Regions from separate parts of the Homo sapiens genome. Here region 2 is linked to region 1. The links are contacts of gene promoters, found by promoter capture Hi-C in blood cells and fetal thymus (Javierre and others, 2016). All regions are on one chromosome and are shown on one strand. The core of a region is centred on a gene start or on the middle of the fragment in contact, and the rest is flanking DNA. Distances in the headings are between cores, read along the strand shown.

Region 1 (7,561 bases), core at 2,247-4,746:
GTAAGGAGATTTACTGAAGGATTTAGAAGCCAAATTATAATCAGGTTAAGGGGAAAACGTGAAATCCACAAAGGGTGATGTTAAAAGTTGCTATCAGGCTGCGGGCACAGTGGCTCACGTCTGTAATACCAGCACTGGGGGGTTGAGACAGACGGATCAACTTGAAGCCAGGGGTTCAAGACCAGCCTGGCCAACACGGCAAAACCCCATCTCTACTAAAAACACAAAAAATCAGCTGGGTGTGGTTGTGCGTGCCATAGTTCCAGCTACTCAGGAGAGTGAGGCAAGAGAATCACTTGAGCCTGGGAAGTGGAGGCTGTAGTGAGCCAAGATAATGGCACTGCACTCCAGCCTGGGCGACAGAGTGAGACTCTGTCTCCAACAACAACAACAAAAAAACGTTGCTATGAGTAATAATCCATCATAGATGTACACCTGTCAAGCAGTGCTGGACACACACTGATCGGGGACCCTGTTCTTCAGAGTGATAAATCAAACAGCCAGTTACTCTCTTTTGATGAAATGGCTTGATATTATGGAAAGTGCATTGAGTGAGTTATAAACTTTAAACACGTCAACTGTATGGTATGTGAATGGTATGGTATCTTAATGAAGCCGCCCTTGGTTTTTTGGGTTTTTTTTTTTAGACAGAGTCTGGTTCTGTTGCCCAGGTTGGAGTGCAGTGGCGTGATCCTGGCTCACTGCAACCTCCACCTCCCAGGTTCAAGCGATTCTCCTGCCTCAGCCTCCCGAGCAGCTGTGATTACAGGTACCTACTACCATGCCCAGCTAATTTTTGTATTTTTAGTAGAGATGGGGTTTCACCATATTGGCCAGGCTGATTTCCAGCTCCTGATCTCAAGTGATCTGCCCGCCTCAGCCTCCCAAAGTGCTGGGATTACAGGCATAAGCCACCGTGCCTGGCCTGCCCTTGGTTTTGATGCTGTGCAGGGTCTTTGTATGCAAAATTTTTTACACATAAGGAAGGTTATGTTTGGGGAATCAATAAATGGTCTCAGTCCATGAAATCATTCTCTAGAAGAGTAGTTCCACAGACTACTCTAAATTCTCATGCCCCACAAAAGACCAGCTGAATCAGAATCTCTGGGGATAAGGCTGAAGAATCTGTGTTTCAACAAGCTCTATGTATAATGAAGTTTGAGAACACTGTGTTAGACTACCTAAGAACTAAGAAAATGGTAAATGATAGCTATACTATTTTTCCTTCTTTTCTTATACTAGCAATTAAATACCTAGCAAAAAATATTTATTAGAGCAATATACCATTTTCATTTCACAGAACTACCTAACAGCTCTTTAAAGTTCAATATAATGGAATTTTACTCGTATATCCAGTTTCAAGAAAACCCACCCCATGACAAAACTTATTACAACACAATTTCTAACAACTTTAAAACAATTTTGTAGTTTACCTTGTATTGATCATTGGGACCCAGTTTGTTCCAGGGCTCTGGGTTATTTCTGTCCCAACTAAAAGAAATAAAACATTACGACTGTTATAATAATAAAGCACTATTTAGTGTTTTGTACTAAGAATACATTTTTGAACAGATCAATCTTATTTTCTATTAGATGAGGTATGGTGTTATTTCATTATGAAGTTGAAACAGGTAGAGGATCTATAATAAGCAATCTCATGTAATCAATTAGAAAAAAGGTAGAACACAGAATCCCTATCACAAGATACTTTTTATCTGGCTTTCACAAAACCTTTCCATTTAATTAATAAAGTGATATACAGAAAAGTGCATAGAATAATGATGAATCAATCTTTTGATTGTCTATTGTTTTTCAACTGCAAATGTGCAAGTGAAGGCAAAAAACATTTACATGTGCCGAGAACCATGATTATTTTATAAAAACAATTATTTTTATGTCAATCCTCAAAACATTACAAGATTTGGTATTAGCAGTTCTACTTTACCAAAGAGAAAACGAGACTCAGAGAAATTAGATAATTTCATGAACCAAAAAAAGTAAATGAAAACAGCAGATTTGAGATCTGAACTTATTGTATGACTGTAAATGTAACATTCTTTCTACTACCCTAATGTTATCGCCCTACAGAGACTGTGGCTCCTAAACTGCCTTGATCAGCTATCAAAGTTTTAAACATTTTTAAGTACTTACCAAACATCTGGATTGAACAATGCCAGACGCAAGAGATACAGTGTTGCTCCAGTAGCTCCAGTTCCAATAAATACAAAGAGGGGGATCAACTAAACCAAACACAAAATAGAATAACCATCTTCAAATACTTAAAACACTGGCCAACGAGAGATTACAGTAGTTTCTGCACATTGATTTCCAAGTCTCAAACTGTTATTGGACTGTTTTGTCTTAAAATTTAAATAAAGTAGATCTTACATTGAGGTAAGATTTCTTATAACTGTGTTCTAAAGAAAGAAATGGAATTTGGAAAGGATGTTAAGATGACTCTGGTTTAAGTGTCTTACTTTTTAATGTGGAGCAAATTATAGGTACATTTTTAAATTTCCAAGAAAATGTATCGAGTCTTCTTCACCTCTCTAATATTTACATGTCATTCCCATTAAATTTTCTGGCTTCCTTTATCCTGGGGCTTGAAAAACAAATTCTTTGCAAATTATTTAAGGGTGCCTCTATAAAGATGTATGAAAAATAGAATCTGAATAAGTAAACGTATCTATTACAAATACTGGCTTTAAGCATTATCTCTGAAAACGTAATGCTACCAATGCTTGCTGCGTATTTAGGGAACCGGATTTAAGACAGATTAAAGATTGCATAGACTTTTAGCTCTACAGCACATTGATGTGCTGAGGAAAAATGAGATGCCAAAGAACTTAACTGCAATTTCCACACTTCGAAATTTTCCCAAAAGCAACGACGTCCAGACAAAGTGAGGATTCCAAGATCACGGACCCCTCTTATTTACCAAAAGGCCTGGTGGTGCAATGCGGCGAATACAAGAACCTCCAGAGATGGTATAACACATAGGGAACCTGACCTATGCTAGTCTCTGACCCACACAGCGCACATCTATCCCTCCTGGACCGCACAACCTGCAAAAGAGAGCGGCCACCAGACTGTTCCAATATTCACTAACTAGAAAAAACTAGGTTTTTTTTCCGAGCAGTGTCCGTCTCCTTCCTCCTGTCAGACAAAACCCCACAATGCATGGCGTAGAGGGTCACAGAGGCCTGGGACAACTAAGATGACAAACACTAGGCGAGGCAGGGTCTGGTCTGACGGACGGTAAGTGGCTGTAAATGAGGACGTTCCCAGGGAACAGAAAGAGGCGCACCCCGACGCAAGAAGGACAAGGGAAAACATTAGGAGAGCGGTCACGAACTTACGCTCGGATGCTTCTTGGCCTGACCGATGATCTGGCGGAGCATGTTTGCGGCAGAGGTCTCCGACTGGAAAGGAGAGAACCGACCTAGCCACCAGGCCCTAAGCTAAAAATTATCTGCAATGAGACACTACGGACTTCCAAAGTCACCCAGGACCTCCTACCTGAAGGACCCTTGGCTGGGAGGGCAGCTTGCGGCAGGAGGGCCCGGATGCGACTGTCTTTAATAGTGCCTGCTTAGATCTAACCCCTCATATGTTCGTCCTGACCTGGTCGGACCATCATCATTCCACTTCATAGTGAAATGCCTTCATTGCCGTGCCATGCATATTTCTGAGGGGAATTTTTTTGGTCGAAACGAGGACTCTTCGATTGACCAGACAGGCACTTTCCAAGGGTGCCACGTACTGAGGAATGCGGTCGGAGCGTGGGCGCACGGGCCGCGCGCTCCGTGAGTAGGGGGCCTCTCCCGCGGCGCCTGAGAGCCGGGTCCGCGCGCAGAGGCCCTGGGGGCGCGCGTGCCGGGTGCGCGCTGGCCAGCTGTGACTGCCGCTGAGGGAGCTGCGCGGCGCCTCTGGGAGCCGAGCGCCGGGCGCCTGGAGGGCAGGTCGGGCCTCTTGCCGCTAAGGTCAGCGGCTGCGGTTTGAGAAGACTGCAGCTGCTTCCTGTGTTACGCTGTCGCAGACAAGCAGAAGTTAAAAACTAGTAAATGACTTAAAGGTGATAATAGTCCTGGCAGTGTATTTCTGAACCCTCAGATCCTGGCCCTCGGTTGAAAGTTCGTCGCCACAAAGACCTTTCCAACACGCCACTATCCCCCGTCCCTGGTCCCAAATTGCATCTTTAAAATGTGTTTTCAATGGTCGTGTAGCTACAGATAATCTTTCCCACTACCCCAGTCGAATTTTCATTTGTCTTTTGTTTTGTTTTCTTCGTTGTTTTTTTTACCCGAAGGACTTCCATAGGACAGGCTTTGCGGGGGAGGGTGGGGGGATTGGGATAAAATGTACACTCTGAACCCTCTCCAATCTCATACGTAGCTTAAAGCATTAATCAAATGATCAAGCAAGTATTAATAATTGGGACTAGAAATCATAGGAGAAGGCTCCACCGGAAGTTACACTAGCTCTGAAGGAGGAGCGGACATTAACCAGGTGAAAACGGAGGATGCAGGTGTACAGGGCGGAGGTAATAACACGTGAAGGTCTGAAGCTATTGAAAACCCGAGGGAGCTGTATGAGGTCTAGTGTGGCTGGAAAGTAAAAGGGAGAGCAAGGTGGGGATCAGATCTGCTGGGCCAATAACCGCTTAAACATCATGGGTTTTATGTTGAGAGCTTGGGAAGGTTGTGTTTTTAAATGATTGCTTTGTGAATAATTGATTAGAAGGGATAAGCGTGAGAGGGGAAAGACCTATCAAGGGGCCATTGCAATAGTCCATAATCTGTGTGACAGATAATGGTAGCTTGAACTAGTGTAGAGAATGTAATGATGAGAAAAAAAGATTCCAGAGATGTTTAGAAGGTGGCACCAACAGGACTTGGTGGTTGGCTCTCCAGGAGTGAGGAGAGAGAAGTTAAGAATAATTTCAGAGGTTCAGTTTTGAGCAGCTCTGTGGTTGTTGATGCCAGTTATTGAAATAAGCCGTAGAGAATGATGTATAAGTGCCTATGTAAAATTCAAGTGGATCTCTATGGGGCAGAAGAGAACTACACTATAAGTATAAATTTAGGACTCAGTTTACTGATAAGAAATGAACCCATGTGACTGAATGAGATTACTTAGGGAGAGAAAGTTGACTGAGAATTTAGACAGAGGACACAGAGCCGAGGAATTCCAACATGCAATGCTTAGAAGAGGAGGTATGGCCAGTAGGTAGGAAAAAAAAAATAGATGGTAACTGTTAAGGTGATATGTCATGAAGCTTATCAAGACTGGTGTCTTTTTTCATTCATTCAGCAAATCTTTCTTAAGTACCTACTCTCCACTAGGCACTGTTCTAGCCACTAGAGTTATAGCAGTGAACAAGAAAATTACTCTGCGTTGCTAATGGAGCTTACATACTAATTGAGGAAGACAAACAATAAACAAATGAGATAATTTTTAGACAGTGACAAGCCAATAAAATAGAATAATGAGACAGACAATGACATGGAAGAGGTGGAGGAGAGGAGGTTACTTTAAGTAGACAGGACAGGGAAGGTCCGTCTGAGGATTTCTGAGTTGAAACCTAAATGAAAGGAAGGAAGTAACCTGGTAAAGATGTGGGAAGAACACTAAATTAGTAAGAGAAATGGCTTTGAGATTTAAAAAAAGAAGAAGAAGAAGAAGAGTGCTTAAAAAAGTATCAGTGTGGTTGATCCATAACTAAGGAGAAAAAGAGGAAAATGAGAGCAAACAGTGGAGTCTGTAAAGTCTATGTCCAATTCTCTGACATGGACCTTATAGGCTATGGTAAGGAGCATGGCTGTGTTAAAAGATCAGCACAAAAACATGGAAAATACTTAGAAGTGAACAAAGAAACCTTAGTGAGTGTAGATAGGCTTTCAGCAAATAAATTAGAAGAAGGGAGACCTCTTCTTCCAATATTTTATTTTGAATAATAACAGTTGATAATAAGTAGGTATGTAGAAATGCCATTATTAAAAAGAAACTAAAATCCAGTGACTTAACTTTTTTTCTTTTTGAGACGGAGTCTCACTCTGTCGCCCAGGCTGGAATGCAGTGGCGCGAGACTTAACTTTTTTTTGTCATTGACCTAGCTTCTAGAGACAACAATAATATAGATAGCTAAGTGATGCCTTTATTTATTTATTTTTGTTTGTTTATTTTTTTGAGATGGAGTCTCGCTCTGTGGCCCAACCTGGAGTGTGGTGGCACGATCTCGGCTCACTGCAACCTCTGCCTCCCAGGTTCAAGCGATTCTCCTGCCTCAGCCTCCCCAATAGCTGGGACTACAGGCACATGCCACCACACCCGGTTAATTTTTTGTATTTTTAGTAGAGATGGGGTTTCACCGTGTTAGTCAGGATGGTCTCGATCTCTGGACCTCGTGATCTGCCCACCTCGGCCTCCCAAAGTGCTGGGATTACAGGTGTGAGCCACCGCACCTGGCCTAAGTGATGCCTTTAGAGATGTTAACAAAGCAAGGTTACAAATATAAATTTCATTAAATATTAACCAAAATGTCAAATTGTGAAAGTTTAAATTTTGCACATTGAAGTTAGTGGAAAGAGTATGTCACCTATATTTTAAGTAGGGACAGGTAGAGGTGACAGTCTGGAAAAAGAAGCCATGGTAGAAGAAACAACGCAAAATTCCTGAGCTGCAGAAGTGGAATTGGTATGTGTTGTAGATTAAATTGTATGCAGATAGCTTCAGCCTCTACCTAGAAGGAGATATCACTTGCCTCATGAGGGTCAAGCTTAATAAGAAGACTTGCCTTATTAGCAAATGCGAAGTGAGAAGTAGCACATGCCATGCACAAGCAAAAACTTTAAGAGCCAACATGTGCCATGTTGTCAGTTTTCCCTCTGCCACAAGACTAGCAATATTCTAGATACAGCCTGCTTATCAGCTTAGGTGTCAGGGTAAGAACTACCTGGAACAGAGCCACTACTGACCTGCAGTGTACATGTATTAAGAATGAGAAATAGGCTGGGCCTGGTGGCTCATGCCCGTAATCCCAGCACTTTGGGAGGCTGAGGCAGGTGGATCACCTGAAGTCAGGAGTGCAAGACCAGCCTGGCCAACATGGTAAAACTCTGTCTCAACTAAAAATACAGAAAAATTAGCTGGGCATGGTGGCGGGTGTCTGTAATCCTAGCTACTTCGGGAGGCTGAGGCAGGAGGATCGCTTGAACCGGGAGGCGGAGGTTGCAGTGAGCCGAGATCATGCCGTTGCACTCCAGCCTGGGCAACAAGAGTGAAACTCTGTCTTGAAAAAAAAAATAGAGAAATAAACCTCTATTGTTGCAAGTGACTGGATTTGGGAGTAGTTTCTTAATGTGGCATAACCTAGCCTACCCTGACAAGTAAATAATTTGACACTGAAAGTGTGGTGACATGTTACCATAATAAAAATCCTAAAATATGTGGCATAGGATTTAGGTCCTGGCAGTAGGTGACAAAGTAACTGTTACCAGGGACTAGAAGGATGGCTATCTATATGTAATGCAGTATTGGAACATTTGGTGAAACACTTATT
Region 2 (7,561 bases), core at 5,004-7,503, 3.0 Mb before region 1:
GGACTATAGGCACGTGCCACCATGCCCAACTAATTTTTGTATTTTTAGTAGAGACGGGGTTTCACCATGTTGGCCAGGATGGTCTCGATCTCTTGACCTTGTGATCCACCTGCCTTGGCCTCCCAAAATGCTGGGATTACAGGCGTGAGCCACCGCGCCCACCCGACACTGAACATTTTTAAGCAGGAAATGTGGCTCAACATATTTCCAAGTTTACCCTGACTAATAAGTAGAAACTAAATTAAAGAAGGCAAGAGTAGAAGCTGGGAGGCAAGTTGAGTAGCTGCAGCAATAGATTAGGTAAGAGATGACAGTAGTTTGACTTAATGTAATAGCAGAAGAGATAGAAGTGGATGGATTAGACATCCATTTATTAAAAACAAATGAGAGGACTAGCTGCTGGGTTGGAGGGGGCGATGGTGGGGAGAAAAATGAGAAATCAAAAATATTGTCTAGGTTAATTGTTTGGAATAACTGGATAGATGGTGAAACCATTTGCTGAAATGGGGAAAAAATGGGGACAATTTTCTCAGAGGTTAAGAGAAAGCAGGAATATGGAAATTAAGATTTTAGGCCCATTTTAGACACATTCACTTCAAGTATTCATGGGTACTTGACGTATCAAGCAGGCAACTGAATATACAAATATGAATCTTGGAGGAAATGTCTGGGCTGGAGAGTTTCATTTAGGAGTTGCCAGCATTTTGCAGTATTTAAAGCCATGGGAATGTCTAAGATTACCAAGAAGGTGAGTTTATACAGAAGCAAGCAGAGAATAGAGGCCAATTTTTAGAGGGAACTAGAGGAGGAAGAACCTGAAGAGCACTGAGCAGTAGTGGTTAGAGAAGTAGGAAACAGAACAGGTGAGTACAGTGTCCCAGACTCCTATAGAAGAGATTTTTTTAAAGAACTGAGCCTGACCAGCAATGTGGAAAACTGCTAAAAGCTGGAAAAGGAAGAGGTCCCAGAAATATCCACTGGGTCTGGCAATATGGAGGCAGTTGATATTGATTAGCAGTTTTCAGTGGCATGAAGCCAGATTGGAATAGACTAAACAGGAAAATAGTAGATTAATAGGATTAAATAGGATATCAGAAGTAACATGTAGACATCTCTGTCAAGAACTGTTGCTGTGACAAGATCAAAGAATTTGGACCATAGATGGAAAGGGATGGCAGAAGAATCTTTGTTTTGCCTTTTAAAGTAAATGTTGGCATAACAGCATGTTCAAACATTACTGGGAAAAATCAATAATTTGATGATGAAGAAGATGGAGATAATAACTGCAGAAATGAAGTCCCTGAGAGACAAGAGGGTCAGAATTTAAATCAGAAGTGGAGGAGATGGCTTTCGATAGGAAAGGAGAACATGTATTACCTGTACAGAAAGGAAAAAGAAATTGATCCAAATGTTGAAAAAATCATAGATTTGATGGTGGGACTGTAGTGGAGATGTATCAGCAGGAATGGGTCTGGAGTTGGGGTGGTTTTGGAGGATTGAATAAAATGCATAAGAAACAAAATAATCATCATGGGAAAGTGAACTTCCTCTCAGACTCTCTCCCTCTTTCTGGTCACCTGGTGTGATTTCTCCTTCTTTCTGTAAGTCACTTCATTCTTTTCTCTCAGAAGGCAGGTTTCCTCTGCTTCTCTGTGCCCATGACAGAAAATGGCCACTCTATGCACAATTCTTTATAGAAAAATATTTTATTTCTTAATTTCAGATTCCCAAAGGAGAAAATTTAATTGGCCCAGCTTTAGTCAGTTGTTGAACTCGGGTGAAATCAACCATGGCCAGAGGGGCAAGGTTATTTGGGACATACATAGCTGTCAGGCCCAAACCCTCTATGTGTTGGGGGAGGATTGGTTCTCAGAGAAGAGGGATATTAGTTTGTCAGATGACCCACGAAGCAGCTACCAAACTTATTTTCTGAGACCCTGAACTCTATTTTAAGGAGTACTTCTGCCCTGCCTTCTTTTCTAGTATTGTTTTCTTTCATTTTTTTTTTGTTGTTGTTGTTTTGTTTTGTTTTTTACTTATCCCTCCATGACTCACGTATAAATTTTCACAATTTTGTTTTTCACCTTCTTTTCATTTCTATGCTTTTCTCCTTTGTGACCATGGCTTCAGCTACCATATGGACATGGATAGCCCCCAAATCTATATCTCTTGTCTTCTCAACTTCACTGTCGTTTAAAAGCTGTCTCTATTTGGATATTCTCTGGTTATTTTATTTATAGCTGAACTCATTATCTTTTCACCAAACCTCCTCCTTCCCTTAGCTGCCTTGTTTGTGTTAAAGCCATGACTATCTTCTCAGGCATCCAAGCTTGAATCTTCAGAACTGTCTGGCGTTCTCTTTTCAAAGTCCACATGATCATCAGCTGAGAAGGAGCATGACTTTCACCTTATTTCACTCTCCATGTCCTTTGTCATTCCCCTGACTCATGCCACCTAAACTAATGTGGAGTATCCTCTAAACCTTCTACATCGTCTTCCAACCATCAATCTCTAATTCAATGCTTTAAGCTATTCTTGCATTAATCTTCATAAAGCACAGCTCCACTCATGTTCTCTCCACCCATTCAAGAATCTTCAACAGCTCCTCACTGCATATCCAATAAAGTGCAAACCTTACCTGGCAACCAAGGGCCGTCATGACCCGTCATCAACAGGCTAAGACTTATCTTCCATTAACCATCAGCCAAAGGCAAACTGTTCAATCATCTTCTGCCTGGTTTTGTGCATTCCTACCTACATGACTTCTTCATACTCTTCTTCCTGAAGCCTTTTCTCAAGTGAGCTTTCCTTTCCCTCACTTCAATAATACTCTATTTACATCCTTTTTATATAAGGCAAATCTGTAGATATGGCTTTAGCTTTGTCGGCATATCTTTTTACTCCTCTTTACCAAAGTGTGAGAACAGGTAAACCCTACTGAGTGTAAAACAGTGTCTGACACTTCAAAAACATTCAATAAGTAACCTGACAAGGAGTTGCTATGGCTTGATGCTAGTATTGTTGCTACTAAGCCCGCATTTAGCCTTATTAGGGGCATTAATATGGACCTTTTCAATAAGATGCTGAGTAGGGCACTCTGAAAATTGTGTTTCAAAAAGTTTAAAATAATAAAAAGAAACTTCTCTAGTCCAGCACTGCTGATGAATTGACGGCACCCTAACAACAGTCCCTCAACACACTTACTCGTGTGGCAAAAAATAAGATTTGGCCACATAGGAAGAAACCTATGACATACTTTAATGACTTTCAACTCTCAATAAAAAAAAATAACATTATGATAATCAAACATATTCCCTTCATAGGACTACTATTGCTTTCAGGTATTATGAACACTCTATTTGGGACTAAAACAAATAGAATGTCACACCATAGAAAGAGAATATTTATAGTCCTTTGGCCCCCAAGTTTTACCTGTGAATGTGCTGACTTTATACAATATAGTCTTTTAGTTACATGGTGAGAGTATTATGCATCAGCTTAAGATGCATTGGAGGTGCCACTGGCATCATAGTTGGCAATTGGAGCTGCTATGGCGATGAAAATCTGAAAAACCAGTGGTTTTCATTACTGTTTTCTATTTTTGAGAAATAACTGTACACTTATTCTGGATGACCTTACCAGTTAAAAATAAAATATCTATTACTATTGCTTCTTCTGAACTTCTTTTAGAAACAAAGTTTTCATTATTTACATATAATAGTCTCGTCTACTTAATTATCATTTATTTTCAGTTCCTTTACACAGGTCTCTTGAGAATAGCTCTTCTTAATAGTGAGATAGAACTAAATACCAATCAGCAGATGTCACTCCTTAAGTGATCCTCTTCAGTTTTCTCTGTTTATTTCAGTTGTCCTTTTTTTTTCAATGCCTTTTCTCCATTGCCAATTCTATTTTCCTTCTTTTGGAGATAGGTTCCCACTCTGTCACCCAGGCTGTAGTGCAGTGGCACAATCATAGCTCACTGTAACCTCAAACTACTGGGCTCAAGCGGTCCTCTGCCTCAGCCTTGCCAGTAGTTGGGAATATGCCTGGCCCCCATTTTCCATTTTCATCCTCTGATGAGCCTCCAGGAGCCAGTAGGTCTAACAACCATAATGCAAGGTATTCTATCTTTTTGAATGGCAGCTTCAATACAAATATCTGTGTGGTTTACAGTAGCCACATCAGATATTTTTCTACTCTGCGACTAGGCTTTTGTAGCAGAGATACACCTGTTAGATTTTTTTTCCTGAGGAAAAGCACAAGTTTTAGTTCATAAGATAAACACTGGCTAAAATTTGCCACTCTTAACAACATTAAACAAATATTTATTGATCATCTACCATATACTAAGCACTGTTGTAGAGATTCAGCAGTTATAAAACTGATAAAAAGTCTTCACTTCATGGCTGTTCTATTCTAGACAGACAAAACAAAAAATAATTATAATATATTATGGTTTGGTTGCTGATAAGTACTCTGCAAAAAGAGTAGGATAAAGAGCAGGAAAAGCCGAGGGGTGCTTACAATTTTTAAAAAAGTGTTCAGGAAAGCTCTCATCATAAAGGTGGTGACATTTGAGTAAAGACCTGATGGAAATGAGTGAGCAAGCCATGTGGATATCTGGGCAAGAACCTTTCAGGCAGAGGGAACACCTAGTGCAAAGGTGCACGTAGGCTGTCACAAGCAGTAAGGAGTTTAATTTAAGCATCTGCCAGGGACAAAAATTCAGTCAAGGCTTTTTTGTTGTTGTTGCTATTAGGAATCAATCTACAAGAGAGTTTAATCAGCTTAAGATGAACATCAGTGCAGATCTGTTTAGTGTTCTCTCCCAGCCATGACCTCATTGCAAATACTGACAGCCTGGACTGCCTCTCAGATTTGGATGGGCCTTGGATGCTCAGCCAGGCAAACCCAGATGGAGCTAGAAGAGGAAGGTTTTGGTAGCTCTGTGGGCTCTGTGGCTTCTTCATCTTATGATCTCTCCACATAGGGCTGCATATAAATCGCATGTAACCAATGATTCCAAGTTTTAATTTAACCTAAAATGTAGTCTATTACCATATTTGCACTAAGAAGAAAGTAGAACAGAATTCTACCTCAGATTAGCTAATGGCAGATCCTCGTCCCACAGATAGCCATGGCATGGGGCTACTGATACAGAAGTATTTCTCATGCCACCAAATTGTGCCTTCAATTTTGTCTTCTTTACACAGGACAACATAGTAAGAGGTCATTGTTAACATTAAGTCTTATATAAGATTTTCAGAGATTGTTACACTTACATTCAACCAGTATGGAAAATCGGCACTAGGCCTAACTACCCCATAGCTAGCATAGTAGCATAACAACGCTCTTCTAGCCTAGCAATCCACATCTCATTCTAGGGGGTTTCCAATTTACTAAGAACATTTTCTTAAAGCTTCTATATATCCTTGGAGCTTACTTTGTCCTCAATAAGAATAAAATATTATCAAGAACTCAACAAATGGACATTTGAAAGCAGGCACTGAGTTTAATTTATTTTAGGCCACCTTTGATTTGTTTGAAGCCTGTATTCCTTAAATATGAAGATCAGTACTTACGTCGTGAGAATAAAGGTTTAAGAGACAACCAAGGTTTCTATAGCAAAGAGAAACGACTGAGCTTCTAGATTGGTCATAATGACTTACTAGTAACTGAAAATAGTATTTTAAGATCATACTAATTCTCTGTTTCTCTGTGTGAGTTATTTAGATTTGCTTTAGATGTCTAAGTCAGCTGTGGTAGATTTGAACAAACACAGAAAGTCCTTAAAATATGACTAGGTATGTTGCTTTAGATCCAAATTAGGTATTGATCATTGTGATTGTGACCTAGAATAAATTTAGAATTATTGTAACCTAATGTGTTGAAGTTGTTCCATAAATATATTTAGGAGTAGCTAGAGATGACATTTCTATAATGCAACTATGCTGTAATCAAAGCAACAACTCAGAAATTTACCAGCATGTAAAAGAAAAATCTTAACTTTTTTTCTTCTTCTTCTTCTTTTTTTTTTTTTTTTTTTTTTTTTTGAGACAGGGTGTCATTCTGTCACCCAAGCTGGAGTGCAGTGGTGTGATCAAGGCTCACTGCAGCCTTGATCTCCCGGCCTTTTGGGCTCAGGTGATCCTCCCACCTCAGCCTCCCTAACCGCGTCCAGCTAGTATTTTTACATTTTTAGTAGAGATGGGGTTTTGCCATGTTGCCCAGACTGGTTTCAAAATCCTGAGCTCAAGTGATCCGTCTGCCTTGGCCTCCCAAGGAGCTGGGATTACAGGCGTGAGCCACCGCACCTAGCCAGCTTTACATATTTTTAATCTGTCAGATTTTTTGTTCTTGCTATTCTGAGAAAAGTCACTGAAAAGAAATCATTTATCATTCTTTTTACACACAAAATAATGCAGTTTTTAAATTAATGAGATAGGCCATTTATATAAAATTTGAAAGAGTAAAGTTTTTATTCATAATTAAAATATATGTTATTCTGGAAAACAAAAAAAAAGTAGTGGTCTGTCTTCATTTGTAAAATTTCCTTTGAACTGATGGGAACTTATCTCACAGATGAGATTTGTGGGCCATTGTGAATACTCTACAGATTATGTACCCCACAGCTTTGAGCTGCCAGGTACTATAGCAGAGTGCTTCCTCAGACTCTTGAGCCAGTCTGTCTGGGTGAAATTTTTAGCTCCCCATATACTAACTATGTGATCTCAGGCAAGACAGCTTATTTATGCCACAACTGAGACCACAGTAAGGATAATAATAGTATCTACCTTGTGGATTATATGAGGACTGAATGAATTAACACACATAATGTTCTTAGAATAGCGGCTGGCACATGGTGAATAAATGTTAGCTCTTATTATAATATGTGGTAAACTGAGGAACTATCACTAGTTTTACTTGGATGAAGTACTGCATGAAATTTTTGTATTTTTATTGAGTTTCATCAATTTTTTTACTGAACCTAGTATGCTTTCTCGTCTGAACACACAAGGAAGAAAAGAAGGATGGCTCCTGTACGTGAAAGTGACCCCTGCATATAGTGCCTGAAATCAGAGGAAGCTTGTCAGTGTGGGCAGACACCACGAGCAGACCAATTTGACATTGTGCTTCTCTTTTAACCTCTTGAAAATTAATGAAAGTTATCTGATGAAGATCCTTACATTAATTGCTCCCGATTAAGGTTTAAAACCTTGGTTTACTGTGGGGTAAATTTATGTTTTTGATAGTCATCCAAAATCTTTGTACGCTTTCAGTTTCATTACAGAATAAAAAACAAATTTACCACAATGGATTATTACATTACATCTGGTATTTATTCCTCCCAAGAAGCTATCTGCTTCGGAAAAGCCAGGGGCGCCCTTCATTAATATATCTAACTGATGGTGTAATGACATAAAATTCCTTGTTGACCCCTGCTATTCAGTGTTATTGTCTTGGAACATAGAACTTGATAATCTCTTTTCACTGCATAACTACAAATGTTAGGCTGTAAGAGTATTTTACTTTGTTCAGTGCAGGTTCCAGACATTTC

The links. Contacts are between HindIII fragments. The CHiCAGO score rates a contact against its expected background, and 5 or more counts as called.
Region 2: a fragment that was not itself captured here is called in contact with the fragment with the promoter of COXFA4 in region 1 in 1 of 17 cell types (naive CD8 T cells); the score reaches 5.5 in naive CD8 T cells.

Annotation. Positions count from the first base shown.
Region 1 is chr7:10,936,657-10,944,217 of GRCh38, forward strand. COXFA4 (cytochrome c oxidase associated subunit FA4) reads right to left here and starts at 3,497. Exons shown (of 4, transcript NM_002489.4): 1 at 3,360-3,497; 2 at 2,152-2,240; 3 at 1,434-1,491. The coding sequence starts at 3,401. It overlaps LOC107986767 (a long non-coding RNA gene), which reads left to right and starts at 3,600. Exons shown (of 3, transcript XR_001745091.3): 1 at 3,600-4,075. RefSeq lists enhancers at 3,480-3,749, 3,634-4,554 and a silencer at 3,780-4,029. The HindIII fragment of the contact is 7,174 bases long and covers 1-5,276 here.
Region 2 is chr7:7,960,704-7,968,264 of GRCh38, forward strand. The region is part of intron 1 of GLCCI1-DT (GLCCI1 divergent transcript); the gene reads right to left. Among named protein-coding and RNA genes, the nearest start is that of GLCCI1-DT, 4.3 kb to the right of the region's middle. The HindIII fragment of the contact is 1,667 bases long and covers 5,421-7,087 here.